Linked DNA regions of Homo sapiens: regions 2, 3, 4, 5, 6 and 7 are each linked to region 1. Evidence: promoter capture Hi-C in 16 types of primary human blood cells and fetal thymus (Javierre and others, 2016). All regions are on one chromosome and are shown on one strand. Each heading gives the region's core, a stretch centred on a gene start or on the middle of the fragment in contact. The rest is flanking DNA. Distances are from core to core; before and after follow the strand shown. Region 1 holds the start of BLOC1S5 (biogenesis of lysosomal organelles complex 1 subunit 5). Region 2 overlaps DSP (desmoplakin). Region 3 overlaps SNRNP48 (small nuclear ribonucleoprotein U11/U12 subunit 48). Region 4 has its middle 33 kb from the start of SNRNP48. Region 5 has its middle 55 kb from the start of SNRNP48. Region 6 holds the start of LOC105374906 (a long non-coding RNA gene). Region 7 overlaps LOC105374906 (a long non-coding RNA gene).

The links. The method cuts DNA at HindIII sites, captures the fragments that hold promoters and counts their contacts. A CHiCAGO score of 5 or more calls a contact.
Region 2: a contact is called between a fragment that was not itself captured here and the fragment with the promoter of BLOC1S5 in region 1, in 2 of 17 cell types (total CD8 T cells and non-activated CD4 T cells). The highest score is 6.9, in total CD8 T cells.
Region 3: a fragment that was not itself captured here is called in contact with the fragment with the promoter of BLOC1S5 in region 1 in 3 of 17 cell types (activated CD4 T cells, total CD8 T cells and naive CD4 T cells); the score reaches 5.4 in activated CD4 T cells.
Region 4: a fragment that was not itself captured here is called in contact with the fragment with the promoter of BLOC1S5 in region 1 in 5 of 17 cell types (M2 macrophages, M0 macrophages, M1 macrophages and 2 more); the score reaches 8.9 in M2 macrophages.
Region 5: a fragment that was not itself captured here is called in contact with the fragment with the promoter of BLOC1S5 in region 1 in 4 of 17 cell types (M2 macrophages, monocytes, M1 macrophages and 1 more); the score reaches 8.8 in M2 macrophages.
Region 6: a fragment that was not itself captured here is called in contact with the fragment with the promoter of BLOC1S5 in region 1 in 2 of 17 cell types (erythroblasts and megakaryocytes); the score reaches 8.2 in erythroblasts.
Region 7: a fragment that was not itself captured here is called in contact with the fragment with the promoter of BLOC1S5 in region 1 in 3 of 17 cell types (M2 macrophages, monocytes and megakaryocytes); the score reaches 6.6 in M2 macrophages.

The regions. Positions count from the first base shown.
Region 1 is chr6:8,063,128-8,065,651 of GRCh38, forward strand. BLOC1S5 (biogenesis of lysosomal organelles complex 1 subunit 5) reads right to left here and starts at 1,262. Exons shown (of 5, transcript NM_201280.3): 1 at 1,138-1,262. The coding sequence starts at 1,249. It overlaps BLOC1S5-TXNDC5 (BLOC1S5-TXNDC5 readthrough (NMD candidate)), which reads right to left and starts at 1,287. Exons shown (of 13, transcript NR_037616.1): 1 at 1,138-1,287. All of the region lies in intron 3 of EEF1E1-BLOC1S5 (EEF1E1-BLOC1S5 readthrough (NMD candidate)), which reads right to left. RefSeq lists enhancers at 470-1,096, 706-895. The HindIII fragment of the contact is 8,031 bases long and covers 1-2,379 here.
Region 2 is chr6:7,583,674-7,586,197 of GRCh38, forward strand. It overlaps DSP (desmoplakin), which reads left to right. Exons shown (of 24, transcript NM_004415.4): 24 at 1-2,524. The coding sequence ends at 2,205. Among named protein-coding and RNA genes, the nearest start is that of SNRNP48, 5.3 kb to the right of the region's middle. The HindIII fragment of the contact is 1,733 bases long and covers 401-2,133 here.
Region 3 is chr6:7,600,016-7,602,539 of GRCh38, forward strand. It overlaps SNRNP48 (small nuclear ribonucleoprotein U11/U12 subunit 48), which reads left to right. Exons shown (of 9, transcript NM_152551.4): 5 at 1,321-1,509. Among named protein-coding and RNA genes, the nearest start is that of SNRNP48, 11 kb to the left of the region's middle. The HindIII fragment of the contact is 2,614 bases long and covers 1-2,524 here.
Region 4 is chr6:7,622,205-7,624,728 of GRCh38, forward strand. No RefSeq gene overlaps it. Among named protein-coding and RNA genes, the nearest start is that of SNRNP48, 33 kb to the left of the region's middle. The HindIII fragment of the contact is 2,859 bases long and covers 1-2,524 here.
Region 5 is chr6:7,643,746-7,646,269 of GRCh38, forward strand. No RefSeq gene overlaps it. Among named protein-coding and RNA genes, the nearest start is that of SNRNP48, 55 kb to the left of the region's middle. The HindIII fragment of the contact is 1,855 bases long and covers 334-2,188 here.
Region 6 is chr6:7,670,328-7,672,851 of GRCh38, forward strand. LOC105374906 (a long non-coding RNA gene) reads left to right here and starts at 2,322. Exons shown (of 4, transcript XR_926437.4): 1 at 2,322-2,503. The HindIII fragment of the contact is 2,548 bases long and covers 1-2,524 here.
Region 7 is chr6:7,686,835-7,689,358 of GRCh38, forward strand. The region is part of intron 2 of LOC105374906 (a long non-coding RNA gene); the gene reads left to right. Among named protein-coding and RNA genes, the nearest start is that of BMP6, 38 kb to the right of the region's middle. The HindIII fragment of the contact is 996 bases long and covers 767-1,762 here.

The DNA of each region.
Region 1 (2,524 bases), core at 12-2,511:
ATTTCCTTTTGGGATATAGACAGAAGCAACAAAACTATAAAGAAATGCACAAGAATAATAAACACCAAATTCTGGATAGTGGCTACCTTGAGACGAGGGAGGGGAACTAGTGCAATTAGAGCAAGACACAGTGGGGCTTTTAGTAATTTATTTATTAAGGTGGGTGGTGAATGTTCATTGTAAGTCTCTTTTTCATAAGTCTGAAAAAGTCATTAAGAAAAGGTCTGAATTTAAGTCTTTTGGTGAGTCAGTTTATTATTCTTCTTAGTTACAACTATGTAGTTTAAAATGTAAGTCTCAAAATTCCTTGAGAAATTAAATCTAAGACAATGTATTATTCATATTCATTCACTGGCAATGTTCCCCAAATTTTTCATTTTTGCAGACATACGATGGGCAGGTTTCAATTCTCTATTTTAATGAATTTTATTAGTACATATCTTCTTAAGCATGTCAAGTAGAAAAAATAATACAAGCACTGTATATAAGCACTTTATATCTGGTATATATAAAGCACTACAACTCAACTGTCAAAGACTTTCACGCAGCAAACAGCGTTGTGAGCTTTAGGAGTCAAACCTAAAGCAGATTCTGTGAGAATCTAGGTTGTAACCTTCTCCCAGCTCAAAGCACACAGAACACATGGACATTTCTGAACGTGAATGGTTCTTTACAGTGCTATAGAGCGCCTTCGTAAGTGTATCTCACTTACTCCTCGCACGACCAGGAACAGATCGGGTAGGAGAGTGAGTAAAGCCAGTGACCCGAAGTCACTCAACTCCTAAGCGACTGCCTCCCGCCTCCCAGGTCCAATGCCCTTTCCACTACACGTCGGTGGCGAGGCTGCCCAAAGGCTCTGCGCCCAGGGGTCCTGAGCTTGCGGAATGGACGGGGGCGGGCCTGATGGCTCAGGCTGCGACAGAGGAAAGCGGGGAAACACGAAGAGTTGGGCTGGTTGGTTGTGGTGGGACGCATTTGGCGCGGGGAAAAAGGCGGGGACCGACCACGACTCCCCCACCCGCACAAACGCACGCGCGCCAGCCCGGGACCCGGGGGTCGGCCCGGGTCAGAGGGCGCCGCCTGGGAGATGAGGCTGTGCTGGGATCCACCAGGAACTATAGCCCTGACACTCCGTACCCTTGATAATGAGGTGCGCTGAGCCCGCAGTCCCCAGGGAGTCCCTCTTCTTGCTGCCACCGCCCGGGGCGGCCTCACAACCCACAGGGGTCTCTGTCCCTCCGCCACTCATCCCGACCAGTTCCGCCCACCCGCGGCCACGCTGCGCCTGCGCAAACCCGGCCGCCCTCTTACAAGGCGCGCCCGGGTTTTTTTTGTGTGTGTGTCATTACAGGGCGCCGGAGAAATTTAATCTACCCAGCGGGCGGTTCCGGAAAGGCGCCTGCCGTGTAGTCAGGCTGTGAACTGGCAGAAGCTCTTGCCGCCATGCTGGATCAGGGCGGATGCTGCTAGAATAGGAAGGTGCTTGAACTTTGGAGCTAAACTCAGAGCCCTGGTTATTTGGCTCAAAGCTGGTGCATTCCAGTACAGTTGTCCTCCCATATCTGCTGAGAATACATTCCAAGACCCCCAGTAGATTCCTGAAACTGCATATAGTACTGAACCATGTATATACTATGTTTTTTCCTGTATATACATATGATAAAGTTTATAAATTAGGCACAGTAAGAGATGAACAATTAGAACAATTTAATAAAAGTTATGTGAATGTAGTCTCTCTCCCAAAATATCTTATTGTACCGTCCTGCGGGTAATGAAACCACAGAAAGTGAAACCTCAGATAAGGGGGGACTACTGTATAGCAAAGCCAATTAGCTGGGGGCTGTTTCCCTACTATGCCATGAGTGTGGCTGACTATTCCTGCCTTTCTTTTTAGACACCTGTTTCCTAGAATGCTTCTCTTGCTCCCTCTTTCTGTTCAAGTCAGTAAACTCACGTTGTATAATAAAGAATTTGACTGGACTTTGACTCTGGTTCCTGGGAGGTACCCTCAATCCTTAGAATTTCCCAAGTGATAGAAGTGTCTTTGTTATTCATGGTGGGCCTCTGGAAATACACCTGAGTTTATGCTAATGAGATGGCTCATGGAGGGCCCAAGATGATTTCAGAATGGAGGCTGGCCACACCAGAAGGGCCGGCCAACCATGAGGGCTTAGGCTTTGAGTCACATAAGCAGGCCCACCTCTGGGGAGCAGATTGGGGCTGGAGACTGAGTTCAGCCATGTGGCCAGTGATTTAACCAACTATGCCTACATAATGGAACCCCAGTGAGTACTCTGGATGTGGAAGCTCAGGTGAGCTTACTGGTCGATAATCATTCATCAAAGTGTCAGGAGGGGGAAGCGTTCCTGAGGACACGTAAGCTTCTATTTGGGAAATCTCCCACATCTCGCCCTATACATCTCTTCATTTGGCTGGTCCTGATATGTGTCCTTTATAATAAAACTGTAATAGCAAGGAAAGCACTTTCTTGAGTTCTATGAGTCATTCTGTGAAACCTGAGGGA
Region 2 (2,524 bases), core at 17-2,516, 480 kb before region 1:
GTGAACAGTGTCTTTTTGCCAAAAGATGTCGCCTTGGCCCGGGGGCTGATTGATAGAGATTTGTATCGATCCCTGAATGATCCCCGAGATAGTCAGAAAAACTTTGTGGATCCAGTCACCAAAAAGAAGGTCAGTTACGTGCAGCTGAAGGAACGGTGCAGAATCGAACCACATACTGGTCTGCTCTTGCTTTCAGTACAGAAGAGAAGCATGTCCTTCCAAGGAATCAGACAACCTGTGACCGTCACTGAGCTAGTAGATTCTGGTATATTGAGACCGTCCACTGTCAATGAACTGGAATCTGGTCAGATTTCTTATGACGAGGTTGGTGAGAGAATTAAGGACTTCCTCCAGGGTTCAAGCTGCATAGCAGGCATATACAATGAGACCACAAAACAGAAGCTTGGCATTTATGAGGCCATGAAAATTGGCTTAGTCCGACCTGGTACTGCTCTGGAGTTGCTGGAAGCCCAAGCAGCTACTGGCTTTATAGTGGATCCTGTTAGCAACTTGAGGTTACCAGTGGAGGAAGCCTACAAGAGAGGTCTGGTGGGCATTGAGTTCAAAGAGAAGCTCCTGTCTGCAGAACGAGCTGTCACTGGGTATAATGATCCTGAAACAGGAAACATCATCTCTTTGTTCCAAGCCATGAATAAGGAACTCATCGAAAAGGGCCACGGTATTCGCTTATTAGAAGCACAGATCGCAACCGGGGGGATCATTGACCCAAAGGAGAGCCATCGTTTACCAGTTGACATAGCATATAAGAGGGGCTATTTCAATGAGGAACTCAGTGAGATTCTCTCAGATCCAAGTGATGATACCAAAGGATTTTTTGACCCCAACACTGAAGAAAATCTTACCTATCTGCAACTAAAAGAAAGATGCATTAAGGATGAGGAAACAGGGCTCTGTCTTCTGCCTCTGAAAGAAAAGAAGAAACAGGTGCAGACATCACAAAAGAATACCCTCAGGAAGCGTAGAGTGGTCATAGTTGACCCAGAAACCAATAAAGAAATGTCTGTTCAGGAGGCCTACAAGAAGGGCCTAATTGATTATGAAACCTTCAAAGAACTGTGTGAGCAGGAATGTGAATGGGAAGAAATAACCATCACGGGATCAGATGGCTCCACCAGGGTGGTCCTGGTAGATAGAAAGACAGGCAGTCAGTATGATATTCAAGATGCTATTGACAAGGGCCTTGTTGACAGGAAGTTCTTTGATCAGTACCGATCCGGCAGCCTCAGCCTCACTCAATTTGCTGACATGATCTCCTTGAAAAATGGTGTCGGCACCAGCAGCAGCATGGGCAGTGGTGTCAGCGATGATGTTTTTAGCAGCTCCCGACATGAATCAGTAAGTAAGATTTCCACCATATCCAGCGTCAGGAATTTAACCATAAGGAGCAGCTCTTTTTCAGACACCCTGGAAGAATCGAGCCCCATTGCAGCCATCTTTGACACAGAAAACCTGGAGAAAATCTCCATTACAGAAGGTATAGAGCGGGGCATCGTTGACAGCATCACGGGTCAGAGGCTTCTGGAGGCTCAGGCCTGCACAGGTGGCATCATCCACCCAACCACGGGCCAGAAGCTGTCACTTCAGGACGCAGTCTCCCAGGGTGTGATTGACCAAGACATGGCCACCAGGCTGAAGCCTGCTCAGAAAGCCTTCATAGGCTTCGAGGGTGTGAAGGGAAAGAAGAAGATGTCAGCAGCAGAGGCAGTGAAAGAAAAATGGCTCCCGTATGAGGCTGGCCAGCGCTTCCTGGAGTTCCAGTACCTCACGGGAGGTCTTGTTGACCCGGAAGTGCATGGGAGGATAAGCACCGAAGAAGCCATCCGGAAGGGGTTCATAGATGGCCGCGCCGCACAGAGGCTGCAAGACACCAGCAGCTATGCCAAAATCCTGACCTGCCCCAAAACCAAATTAAAAATATCCTATAAGGATGCCATAAATCGCTCCATGGTAGAAGATATCACTGGGCTGCGCCTTCTGGAAGCCGCCTCCGTGTCGTCCAAGGGCTTACCCAGCCCTTACAACATGTCTTCGGCTCCGGGGTCCCGCTCCGGCTCCCGCTCGGGATCTCGCTCCGGATCTCGCTCCGGGTCCCGCAGTGGGTCCCGGAGAGGAAGCTTTGACGCCACAGGGAATTCTTCCTACTCTTATTCCTACTCATTTAGCAGTAGTTCTATTGGGCACTAGTAGTCAGTTGGGAGTGGTTGCTATACCTTGACTTCATTTATATGAATTTCCACTTTATTAAATAATAGAAAAGAAAATCCCGGTGCTTGCAGTAGAGTGATAGGACATTCTATGCTTACAGAAAATATAGCCATGATTGAAATCAAATAGTAAAGGCTGTTCTGGCTTTTTATCTTCTTAGCTCATCTTAAATAAGCAGTACACTTGGATGCAGTGCGTCTGAAGTGCTAATCAGTTGTAACAATAGCACAAATCGAACTTAGGATTTGTTTCTTCTCTTCTGTGTTTCGATTTTTGATCAATTCTTTAATTTTGGAAG
Region 3 (2,524 bases), core at 9-2,508, 460 kb before region 1:
ATTTTTATAGCCTAATTCAAAGGAATTAGGCTTATCAAAGCTGTTTTTATAATTTTGTATTATGAAATGCCTACTATAATTAGAATAAAATTGATTGACTTGAAAGGGAACCCTTTTTTCCCCATTAATTCAAAACCCTTTGACGAGTAAAAATGGCCATATATTGTTATGTATAGCCGTGTTAAACCATGGCCTCAGATTCACTGCAGCTCTCCTCTTAATATGTAGACAAGTAGTACCTCTTTTTTGTTGTAATGCTTAGTTCATAGTATGCTCTTATTTGAATTCTTTTTGCCTCTACCTAGGAACTTAATGAGGTTAGACTTTATCAAATATAAGTATCTGGAAAGAGCTACTGATTTTATGTTGTTCTATGAACCAGTTACTACTTTAGAATAAGTTAGCAAACAATAAAAGGATTCCTTTAGTAGCTCATGTTCTTTGTTTGCATTAGTGAGTAATGAAGTCTAGAAAGAATTGTTTTAAATTGCTTTTTTTACAGTTCCAATCATTTTTTTATTTGAGAAAATTTGAATCTCAAAACAAAAATTTTCTTCAATGTTTAATACATCATATCAAGGTATTGTATTTACTTTTTTTCACTAATGAGCAGATTTTAGAAAATTCTGTAACTACCGGGGGGCACTGCTATTAACTTTTTTCAATTAATTTGGTTAAGCCACTATGCTTCCTCCTCAGGAAATTAAAATGAGTTTAATTTAATCTGTGCTTTCCTGGCGTGAGGAGGTGTGGGATTTCTGCTACTTAATTATTTTGTGGCCCCTAGCTCTAAGTCCTTGCACAAGTGGGATATATTTTGAATATTGACCATCTAGCTTGATGTCTCATACAAAAAGATATTTTTTACACAGTTTTTAATATTTCCATAGTTTATTTTCAAAGGGACTGTAATGCATATTACTTATTAAAAGCATTTTTTCCCCCAACTTTGATGGGGAAAAGCATATCAACAGATACCTACTTTTGTAGATGGCTATAAAAATTGTTACCCAAAAGGCTTTCTTAGAGCAAATTGTCTCTTATGATTATTCCTGCCTGCCTCCATGGGATCTGTCTTTATATTGTTGGAGAGAATAGCAAACATCCATAATACATTTTTTTTTTTTTTGTGGATATAACATTCAGGATAGAATTGTTTGTCATTTATTGCTTAGATTGATATTTTGTATACTTAGGGATTATGAAAAAAGTTTGTGTTAATATTGCATTATTAAAGCACATGTTTAAAGATAATTATTAGATTTTAAGTTCACAATGCTTCATGTATTGTTTATTCTTGTGATTTTATTTTTACTTTAGGAATTTATTCTTCATTGCCTGTTGAAGTTCCTTTGAATCACAAACGGTTTGTTTGTGATCTAACTCAAGCTGATCGTCTTGCCCTCTATGATTTCGTAGTTGAGGAGACAAAGAAAAAGCGCTCTGATTCTCAAATTATTGAAAATGACAGCGATCTCTTTGTAGACTTGGCTGCCAAAATCAATCAAGGTTTGAGATGCACATCATGGCTTTACATTTCTTCATTATCATTTTATTCTATGAGTGTTATTAAGATGATTTAATTCTTGGGCCACTTTGAGTTAGAGTAAAATGGTTTTGTATCATTTAATATTGACATGAAGTTGGCCCTCTGTGTCTGTGGGTTCCATATCCATCAATTTGACCAACGGTGGATTGAAAATATTTGGAAAAAATAAAAGTGTGTGGTTGCCTCTGTACTATACATGTAGAGACTTTTTATTCTTGTCATAATTCCATAAACAATATATTAACAACTATTCATGCAGCATTTACATCGTATCAGGTTTTTGGTGTTTTTTTTGTTTTGTTTTTTTGAGACTGAGTCTTACTCTGTCACCCGGGCTGGAATGCAGTAGCGCGATCTCAGTTCGTTGCAATCTCTGCCTCCCAAGCTGAAGCAATTCTCGTGCCTCAGCCTCCTGAGTAGCTGGGATTACAGACATGTGCCACCACACCTGGCTACTTTTTGTATTTTTAGTAGAGATGGGGTTTTGCTACGCTGGCCAGGCTGGTCCCAAACTCCTGGCCTCAAGTGATCCTCCTGTCTTGGCCTCCCAAAGTGCTGGGATTACAACGTGAGCCACTGTACCCGGCCTGTATTAGGTATTGAAAGTAATTTAGAGATGACTTCAAGTGTACTGGAGGGTGTGTGTAGGTTATATACAAATACTACACCATTTTATATCAGAGACTTGAGCATCCATGGATTTTGATATCCTTGGGGGTTCCTGAACAAATTCTGCATGGATACTGAGGGATATTTACTCAGTACCTGAGGTTTTACTCTGACTTTTACATTAAATGTACCTTCTTTCTGTGAAAATATTACAACTGTGCTGTTACTTTAATCTATGTACCTAAGCACTCTTATGTTCAACTAATGGCTGGAGAGAAGAAATGATATAAAACTTAGCCCGTGTATATAAATAATATACAATTTTTAGAATGTTTTTATGTGCTACTTTGAAACAAGTTAAAATAT
Region 4 (2,524 bases), core at 11-2,510, 440 kb before region 1:
TCTGCTCTAGGTCACTGCTTTTCAGTATTTAAAAACAGGATATTTTCTTCAAATCACCTTCAAGAGCATCTAACACATAAGCCTGATGAAAACAGTTGCTGCAGTTTAAGTTTGGGTGGGTGGGGGTCAGCCTAGAGCCTGGTCCTTCTCATGGTGACACCAAAGGAAACTCCATGGAGCTCCCTGGGTTCTGAGGAACCTAGAGTGAAGTCCACTGCCCCACTCCACATGGCCTGTCCCCAATACGCTTCCAAATGATCCTTCCTACATTTGTTGTGATGTTACTTATTATCCCCACAACTAGACAGTAAGACCCTTGAGAGCCTGGGCCAAGGCCTTGCCAGCTTTTTCCCTTCTCTATGGTGCCAAGCATGAGCCGAGACTCAGGCACAGCTGTTTAACGTGGAATAACCTGGGAACTTGGTCTAACCTGAGTTAGTCCCTGACTCAAGGTAATCAGTCGCTGAAGTACAGATGCTAGAGCTGGAAGAAGGCAGGGGTTCACTTTCTTCTCCGTGTGGGCCCCATCCCCCAATTTGTCAAGTGAGAGAATGAAGCCCATTCATTCATAATGTCATTCACATCTAAATTTGTGCTCTGACCAAGATTTTACTTTCTCACAGATATTAAGTTTGGGTTTATCCCCAACTAGGTTTATCCCCAGTGTTTTCGGAAATAAGTTCTCAAGGTTGTTATGGAATTATTAGAAGAAAAACAGTGGGTGGCAGTGGTGGTATGTGTGTGAGTGGGTTGGGGTGGGGTGGGGAAGTCGGTCAATGTGTGCAGTTCCTGCAATAGGAAAAGAAGCATGTGCTTCAGGTGAAGGGAATGCCGCTGACAAGGGTCCTTACTTATGCCTAGAATGATGCTGGGCAGACATCCTCAATATTGGGAGAATTAAATGGAATGGTAGCCTCCAGGAGCCCTCACTATCCTGCTACTCATTTTCTGAGTTCCTGAAGTTATAGAGTTAGTTACACAAAAACAAAAATAGACACATCATGAAAATATTTAATGACCACAAATAAAATCTTCCCCTGCTCGGCCAGGCATGGTGGCTCATGCCTGTAATCCCAACACTTTGGGAGGCAGAGGTGGGTGGATCACTTGAGGCCAGGAGTTCGAGACCAGCCTGGCCAACATGATGAAACCCCATTTCTACTAAAAATACAAAAATTAGCCGGGCATCGTGGCATACGCCTGTAATCCCAGCTACACAGGAGGCAGAGGCAGAGAATCACTTGAACCTGGGAAGTGAAGGCTGCAGTGAGTCGAGATTGTGCCACTGCGCTCCAGCCTGGGAGACAAAATGAGACTCCATCACAAAAAAAAAAAAAAAAAAAAAAATTCTTCCCCTGCTCAAACAACGTGTGTCCCAGATGCCAAATATCTCTGATGACAGTCTGGTGTTGTAAACACTCAATGCCATGATGCCAGAACACAGGGACTGCATAATGACAAGGTCCATCTAGCAAAACAGGTAGGGGTTTTTCATGAAGTTGATGAAAATGATGATGGATCACTGTTCAACCCCCCTGCAAAGCTGTCATGATGCAAATGAGGCTCCGGAAGAGGGAGAGACAAGTTGAGAAATGAAAAAGAGAAAGCTGACCAAAAAATCAGGTTGGATTCTTGAAAAGGGGATGATTTGAACATCAAAAGATGCAGAGAGACCCTCGGGAGAACTCATAAAGCAAATTTTTTTTGTTGCTGTTAAAATGACCGTGCTGTAAAAAGTAAAGGCAATGATCTTACACAATCATAAAATTTTACCAGAAATATTACCTTCTTTTGAAAAAGTCTGATTTACTTCTTGTTCATTTTGAAAATTAGTATATGGTTGAAATTATAACAAAAATTTTGTTAGATATAGGATTAAAACACATTTAATTTCATGTCCCCCATAAAATTTCAACCAAAACTCTTTTTTGATTATTTCAACCCAAAACTCTTTTTAAAAATTATTTGTTATGAAAACATTTTACCCCTTTTAATGGAGCTCACTCTAAGCCATCTTTCCTTGGTACCGAGTATACTTGGATAATGAGGACTGTTTTCCATAATGTTGGTGTAGAAAAAAACCTTCTTATAAGCAAGACACAAAATGCCAGAGGAAAAGACTGTGAGAATTGATTAGTAAAATGTTAATACTTTTGCATGATGAACTAATAGGCTACAACACCCTGGGTGAAAATATGTATAACAGATATAATCACAGAGCGGTTAATAGCCGTGATACAGAGAAAGCGATACGAGTCAAGAAAAAGAAAAGTAACCTGGAGGCAAAATGGGCCACAACCATAGTTGGTGGATTCACAGAAGAGGAAAAAGGGAGAAGGACTGGAGCGCGGTTAACAAACATGTGAAAAGATACCCACTCCTACCGGTAATCAGGTAAGGGCAAAATAAAGTATCAAACACCACTTCACCCATATGTGTGTGTCCTTTGACTTCACTACTAGAATTAGGAATGTATCCCCTAGAAATACTCACACAGAACTATTTACAAGTTGTTAGCATATTA
Region 5 (2,524 bases), core at 11-2,510, 420 kb before region 1:
TTCACTCTTGTTGCCCAGGCTGGAGTGCAATGGTGTGATCTTGGCTCACCACAATGTCCGCCTCTTGGGTTCAAGCGATTCTCCTGCCTCAGCCTCCCGTGTAGCTGGGGTTACAGGCATGTGCCACCATGCCTGGCTAATTTTGTATTTTTAGTAGAGACAGGGTTTCTCCATGTTGGTCAGGCTGGTCTCGAACTCCCAACCTCAGGTGATCTGCCCGCCTCGGCCTCCCAAAGTGCTGGGATTATAGGCGTGAGCCACCGCGCCCATCCAAAAAAGGTGTTTTTTCCCCTCTTTGTTATGCAAGTTATTTTAGTTTGGGTCTCCACAGCAAGCTTGAATATTTCTTTGAAATTTACCGCTTATCTTAAAATTATTGTAAACTTTTCAATCTACTCCATTATACATCTGTTTGTTATATAAGTAATGTTTTAAATTACTTTCTATTAAGCAAAATAGATTTTCTGAAAAGATATACCATATTTATCTTTTGATTCTATTATTCTCTAGCTGTGAGTTCTTCTTGGCATTGAGCTTGAGCATGAACATACGGAATTACAACCTGACTACCCACCACCCGCAACCCCAATCCTCTGGAGCAACTTTGAGAGCTTGAGCCTTTGTAAAATTGCATCTTTGGAACACACAACCATATCCAGCTCTTAGAGGGTGACAAACAGAAAAGAACTTTCCAGACAAGGTCAGGACAGTCAGAGACACTGCAATGCCCTGTGGCATATGCAACATCCATGCCTTCTTTCAACAACTTCCTTCCTGATTGGGACCTTGGCATCATGTACTCACTGGCCTCAGGTGAATCACTCATTTATTGAGTTCTCAGCTGAGTGCAGCAGCACCAGCTCCAGGTCAACCTGAATGTTATTTAGAAAGCCAGGGATAGAGATCCTGGTCTGGGTGTATGTGTGAGTCAGGACGTCCCCATGCCTCTGGATCCGGTTGATGTGCCTTACTGCCCAGCATCCATTCACTCTTCTCTCATAACCACACCCCAATATCCTTCTGGGGAACCACCCCTAATGCACTTCCATTCTATCTCCTTCAGGTGGCCTTGGCTTCTTCGGGGTGTGGAACATATGACTGAGGTCTGAGCAATCAGGATATTTCAGTTCCCAACCAGGGACTGAATATGACACAACCAGGGCAAATAAAGTAAAATCCTATTGAGCTTAAAACCTAAAAGATACACAATCTAGATCTTCTGTAGAAATCTCAGGATCAGGAAGACAGACTCTCTGAAAATAAGGCCAAAACACAGAATAGGCCATGGCTAATTGACCATGTGCTGAAGAGAAGCTGGGTCCTGGTTAACAGGGGTTGGTTGCAGCAAACTACCCTTGAACCCAATGCTACCCCTGAACTTTTCTGTTATCTTAGCTAGTAAATTACATTTTTCCAAAGGCCTAGTTGGGTTGGATTTTTGGTCTTTTGGAACCAAATGAATTCTAACTATATGTTCCATGTAAGCATGGCTCTTGCTTCCATGGGCTATGGAAGAAAATGGGGAGGGGGGAGCCTCCCAGGGCATCCAGGCTGCCTAACCAAGGATGAAAGTCCAACGCCAGGCAGTAATTCAGTCTTGTTATTCTTGTTGAGCAGGCCATGACATGTGCTCTGGATTGGTGAATACTGTAAATTTTTCTCGTTCTTGCCTTTCCCAAGTGGTGGCTTTATGGCCATTCTCTTGTTCTCTCTCCACCATGGTACATTGAATGAATTAGGGGTTGTCAAAATTATTATGAGGCATGATATTTTGCCTTGACTGACAAAATTGCATATCATCCAGAGATCTTAGGCTTGATGCTGGATTAGACTTGGATGATTTTTTTTTTGGACAAGTAGGGAGTTTATTTTAAGTAAGTACAGAAACTTGCAAGGTGTGGAAGGAAGGATGTATGTGTATGGTGTTCCAGGAAGCCAAAAGAGGGGATGTAATGGATTTCAGTTGTATTTTGCCACCCAGTCAGTATTTACTCTTATTCTGACAACTCTATGTGATTTCCCCTGGGGAGGTCACCTCATCCTGATTCCCTCAATGATACATTCATATCTAGATGTGGAACATCCAATTTGGTATCTACATGTGACCCAAAGAAAGCCAAAGATACACCGTGGGGCTTTTTCTAAACTCTCTGGGAAAGATATTCTTGCTCTTTCTAGTTGGAATTGAAGCTTAAAGAAGAGAAGATCTGGAATGACTATAGCCATCTTATGACCACAGAGAGAGAACTTACTTGAGTATAAAGCTGACCATAAGGAGGACAGCAGATCTATCTGAGCCAAAAGATGGCGTTGTGATATTTTAAATCTATGCCTTATAGTACCCGAAGTCAATTCCATCCTTAGACTTTTCAGGTAAATGAGGCCACCCTTTCCAATTTATCAAAATATATTTTCTGCTGGGTTTTCTGCCATTTTCAACTGGAAGAGTCCCATCTGATATCCTGGACAAGTACCACACTCCTGGAGATGATGTCCTGAAAGAAGAGCTTGCTCACTTGAGAGC
Region 6 (2,524 bases), core at 9-2,508, 390 kb before region 1:
CCATTTTCCCTAATTTTAAAATCCCAAAGAAAGGCTTTTCTCAATTTGCTTTATATAAGACAATTTTGGAAACATCTGAAGTTTGGCAGCAATTCCAGGAGAATTTGGCTCTGCAAATCCCAGTAGCTAATTGTACTACTGTTTGCCAGGGCCACAGACTAGGGTCGTTACACAGGACTTTATTTCTTCCCCGTTCCGGAGGCTGGAAGTCCAAGATCCAGGTGCCGGGAGGCTGGAAGTCCAAGATCCAGGTGCCGGGAGGCTGGAAGTCCAAGATCCAGGTGCTGGCAGGGTTGGTTCCTCCTGGGGCCACTCTCCTGAGCTGTAGATGCCATCTTCTCCCTGTGTCCCCACCTGGTCCTCCCTCTGTGTGTCTCCGGGTCCTAATTTCCTTTTCTTATAAGGACACCAGTGAGATTAGATTAAGTCCCACCCTAATGGCCTCACTTTCACTTAATTACCTCTTTTAGGGCTCCATCTTCAAATAGAGTCAAATTCTGAGGCACTGAAGGTTAAGATTTCAGCATATGAATTTTGGGGGGACATAATTCAGCCAATTGCACTAGTGACCATCTCAGGGGTCTGTAGAGCCAGCTGGTTCCCTACAACCAGTGCTCCCCATCTCCATTACAGGAGCCACTGCAGGTAGCCCCAGGTCATGGTGGCCACCACGGACCACTGCCTTCAGCACCCTCCCTCCCTCCTCCATCTCTTCTGTCATCCCCCACAGTGACACACACATTACTCTCGTGGATCCTAAATGTGAATCGACTGCTCCTCATTCATCCTGGGTGTACCCAACATCTTCGAGTCATCTCAGGGCCACTCCTATTTGTTGCTTCGATCTTTGGCTACTTGAACTTAAAGGGGTCAAATAAACAGACTTCAAAGCCATGGTGCATATAATAACGTTTGGAATTCAGGATGTAGACAGGGAACCTCCCTAAATGTCACAATTCTCTTAGCCCTATAGTAAGGCATGCCCCACATTAGAAAATAACAGCTCAGAGGAGGTTTTTCCCTGGGGATAGCTATGTCTCTAGGAAAATGTCCCATTCACGATGAGTCACCGCTGAGAGAGCATCAGCTCATGTTTTTGGTAATTTACTAATAAAATGGTATCTCTATTAAATACATATATAGAAAGGTAAAAATAGATTGAGCATTTTCTAAATAGCTCTGGCTCAAGGTAAGGTGGTGAAGGAGTTGTTAGTTCTTTTGGAGCAAAATAAAGCTGCTCTTCCTTCATCCCCAACCACACTTCAACTTCATCCTAGGACAAACAAGAAATCCTCCAAAGAAAGAAAATGAAAATGCTGTTCTTGACTGGATTGCTTCAGAAATATGCTTGGACTTGAGAGTTCCAGCTTTTCTGGGATTCATTCTTACAGAGTCTAACCCTTGTGGTTTTTTGGTAGGAGGCAATTTCTGTGCTGGTTATGATTTGAAGGAGCTGGCCCACAGCTCAACCTTGCTTAAATTGGAACAAGATGTCACCAGTGGTCTTGCTCCCATAGTAGGTACTAGAAAATAGATTCTTGATGGATGAATTTGAGGCCATTCCGGGAGACTCTTGTTAGTTTCCATGACTAGAAATGACACCACCATTCTGTCATTGCGTTTCAAGTGCCTTGTACCACGCAGGGAGTGTGAGTTGTAGTGGGTGGTTTTTTTTTTCTTTTCAATTTTTTTTTATTTCAAGCAATGAAGGTAATGGCAAAGAATTTTTCATAAAAACAAGTGACAAATTTCACTCGAGTTACTGACACATAGAAGGAAAAAATTAGTTTTTGCTTTGAAGCTAACCAGAAACAAATGGGACTGTTTCTCCAAAGGAAAAGTTGGAGTTTAGTTATGATACATCCCCTCCCAGAAATCTAGGAAATTATACATACTGTACCCTCTGTTTATAAGAATATGAATAACATGATTGTGTGCACAGGGTCAATTGCAGTTCAGATGAGAATTTACCGCTGCTGAGCTGCAAATGGATAAAGACAGAGAGAGCTGCTGTTAACCCCTTATTAACACAGCCCAAATGCCTTTCTTTAAAGGAAAACTTAGACCAAAAGCTCCTTGAGGCCAGGAAAGATGTCTTCAATATCTTTAGATATTTCCCCACCTCCAGTGCGGGTCCCGGTGGTTGGCACACAGTAGCTGTTCAAGTGAATGAACGAATCACTTTTGATCAAAAGAAGAAGCAGGGCTTGTTTTTCAAATTGAGAAATGGGAGTGGTTGTATTGTAGCTGCATTGTTGAGTCTCCTGTGTGCCACGTGATCCAGCAGGAGAATCATAACCGGGCTGAGCCCACTCTCTCCCATGCTGACAGTGCTCTTAGCAGCCGCGGCCACAACACGACCTCAGTGACAGCAGCCACGGCGGGCCAGGATCTGTGCTAAGGGTTTTCCATGCCTCCGTTGCACGTACCCTAACAACCACCCAAGGAGGGGGTGTTGTCTTTGTATCCCAGAACGGTTAAGCAGCTTACTTGGGATCACACAGTAAGTAGCGTGGCAAGAACT
Region 7 (2,524 bases), core at 15-2,514, 380 kb before region 1:
TCCCTTGAGGCCAGGAGTTTGAGACCAGCCTGGGCAACATATAAGATCCTGTCTCTAAAAATTTTTTTTAAAAATAAATTTACATTTACATTCAAATATGTAAGTTAAGAGCAGGCATTGATATCACATTTCCCCAGCAAGTCTGTATTACGTTCAGTTTTAATTAAAACTGAAAAAAGTAAAAGATCTCCAAAGACTATAAAGTTGGAATGTGGCATCATATGAAAGTGATTTTACAAACCTAAATTTAAATTATCCCTTTGTTAATCTTAAAAAATGTTTTTCAGCTGTTACCTGCAAATTTTTTTCTTACTTAATTTTAATCTCGTTAGGTTGATATTCTTACTTTAATTAATTATGAACCCCAAATTAATTCTAGATAGAAAAGTGTTTACACAGAAGAAAGTGAAGTCCTAAGAAAAAAAAAGGAAATATTGGTGAGAACTTTTGAATAATCTTTGAGTGGAAAACAGCTTTCTACCATACTACCAAACTCAGGAACCACAGTGGAAAATAATCATAAATTTGACTATAGACTTAAAAAAACTCGTTGTAGCAGGAATCTTCATAAAGTAAAAGCACAAACAAATGTATTTACAACATAATGGCAATAAACAGTCTGATTTCCATAAACTGTACAAAAAGTTCTTTTAAATTTGTTTTTAAAATAATAGAAAAATGGGAAAGGGAATTCATATATGAAGAAATACAAATGGCTAATGAATATTAAATACTCAGTATCAATTATTAAAGAAAATCAGATTAAAGCTTTACTTTTGAAAATAAGTTAATTATTTACAAGGAAGTGTAATACTTTCAATCAACCAGCCGAATTATTTTATCTCTTCCTGAATTTTCAACTTGCCATGCATACCTTTAGCAGAATCTTCAGGAAACGATTTCTGTGAAAATGACCCCTTCAGCAATTAGAATGACTAAAAAAGAGAAAAGATGATCTTATAGGTTCACAAGGGTGCAGAGCAACTGGAAGTCTCATTCATTGCTGGTGGGAACGCAAACAGCTCAACGACTTTGGAAAACACTTTGGCAGTATCTTGTGAAGTTAAACACACATTTTCCACACAATGCAGCAATCCCACTCCTAGGTGTTTACCCAAGAGAACTGGGAACTTTTGTTCATATAAAAATTGTGCGTGAATGTTTCTAGCATATTTATTCACATTCATCAAAAGCTGGGAACAACCCAAATATCTTCAACTGTTGAGTGGGTAAACAAACCGTGGTATGTCCAAATAATGGAATACTGCTCAGGACTAAAAGGGAACAAATTACTGATTAATGTAACAACATAGATAAATTTCATACTAAGTGACAGAAGCCAAACTTAAAAGACACATTTTGTACAATTCTGTTTACATGACATCCTGGAAAACACAAAATTATAGGAACAGATCAGTGGTTGCCAGGAGTCCAACATGGGGGCTTGGGTTGATTACAAAAGGGCAGTGTGAGGAAATTTGGGGGGTGATGGAACTGTTCTGTCTTGATTATGGTGGTCTAACTGCACGCACTTGTCAGATTCACAGAAATACACATCAGAGAAGTTAATTGTATTGTACATAAATTAAGTGAATTTAGAATTTATGTCTTTCTAAATTATTGTATTAGATTGAGAGCAAAACAGGTTGTTATTTCTCCATTTTTTGACTTAGATTTGATTATCTTTGTTCCTTTTTTTCTGAAGTAGACTTCTACATTGATGTATAACATACATATAAAAGTGCACAGATCATACCTGTAAAGCTTGATGAACTATTACAACTGTCATGTGTTTAACCAACTGCCACCCAGATCAAGAGACAGGCTGGGCACAGTGGCTCACTCCTGGAATCCCAGCACTTTGGGAGATGGCGGTGGGAGGATTACTCGAGACCACGAGTTTGTGACCAGCCTGGGCAACACAGAGAGACCTTGTCTCTACAAAATACAAAAATTAGCTGGGCATCGTGACACATGTGTGTGGTCCCAGCTACTCGGGAGGCTGAGATGGGAAGATCGCTTGAGCTCAGGGAGGTCGAGGCTGCAGTGAGCTGCAATTGCGCCACTGCACTCCAGCCTGGGTGACAGAATAAGACCCTGTCTCAAAAACCAGACCAAAAAAGACAAAAAAAAATAGGACATTACCAGAAGCCCCTCCCTCACCCCCTTAATCTTCCAGAACCAGTATTCTGACTTCCAACACTAGAGATTATGTCTGTTTTTGAACTTGGTGCAGATAAAATCATACAGTATTGAATATTGCACTCTTGATAGGTTTACTTATATTTCAGGTTAGTTTTGTGTGTAAAGCAGCATAGATATACCAAATAACAATAAGGAGACTAGACTGGTCAAGCACTATGATTACTTCTAGGTCTCAAATGAAGTCTGAGAGTTGAGAGAACTCTGACATATTTTTTGTTTGAAATACATTTTTGGCCAACAAAATAGCCTTTTTGTTGTTGTTGTTTAAAGCTAATCTGAATGCATTTGGGAAATGCACACCATACTGTTTCTTTCTGAT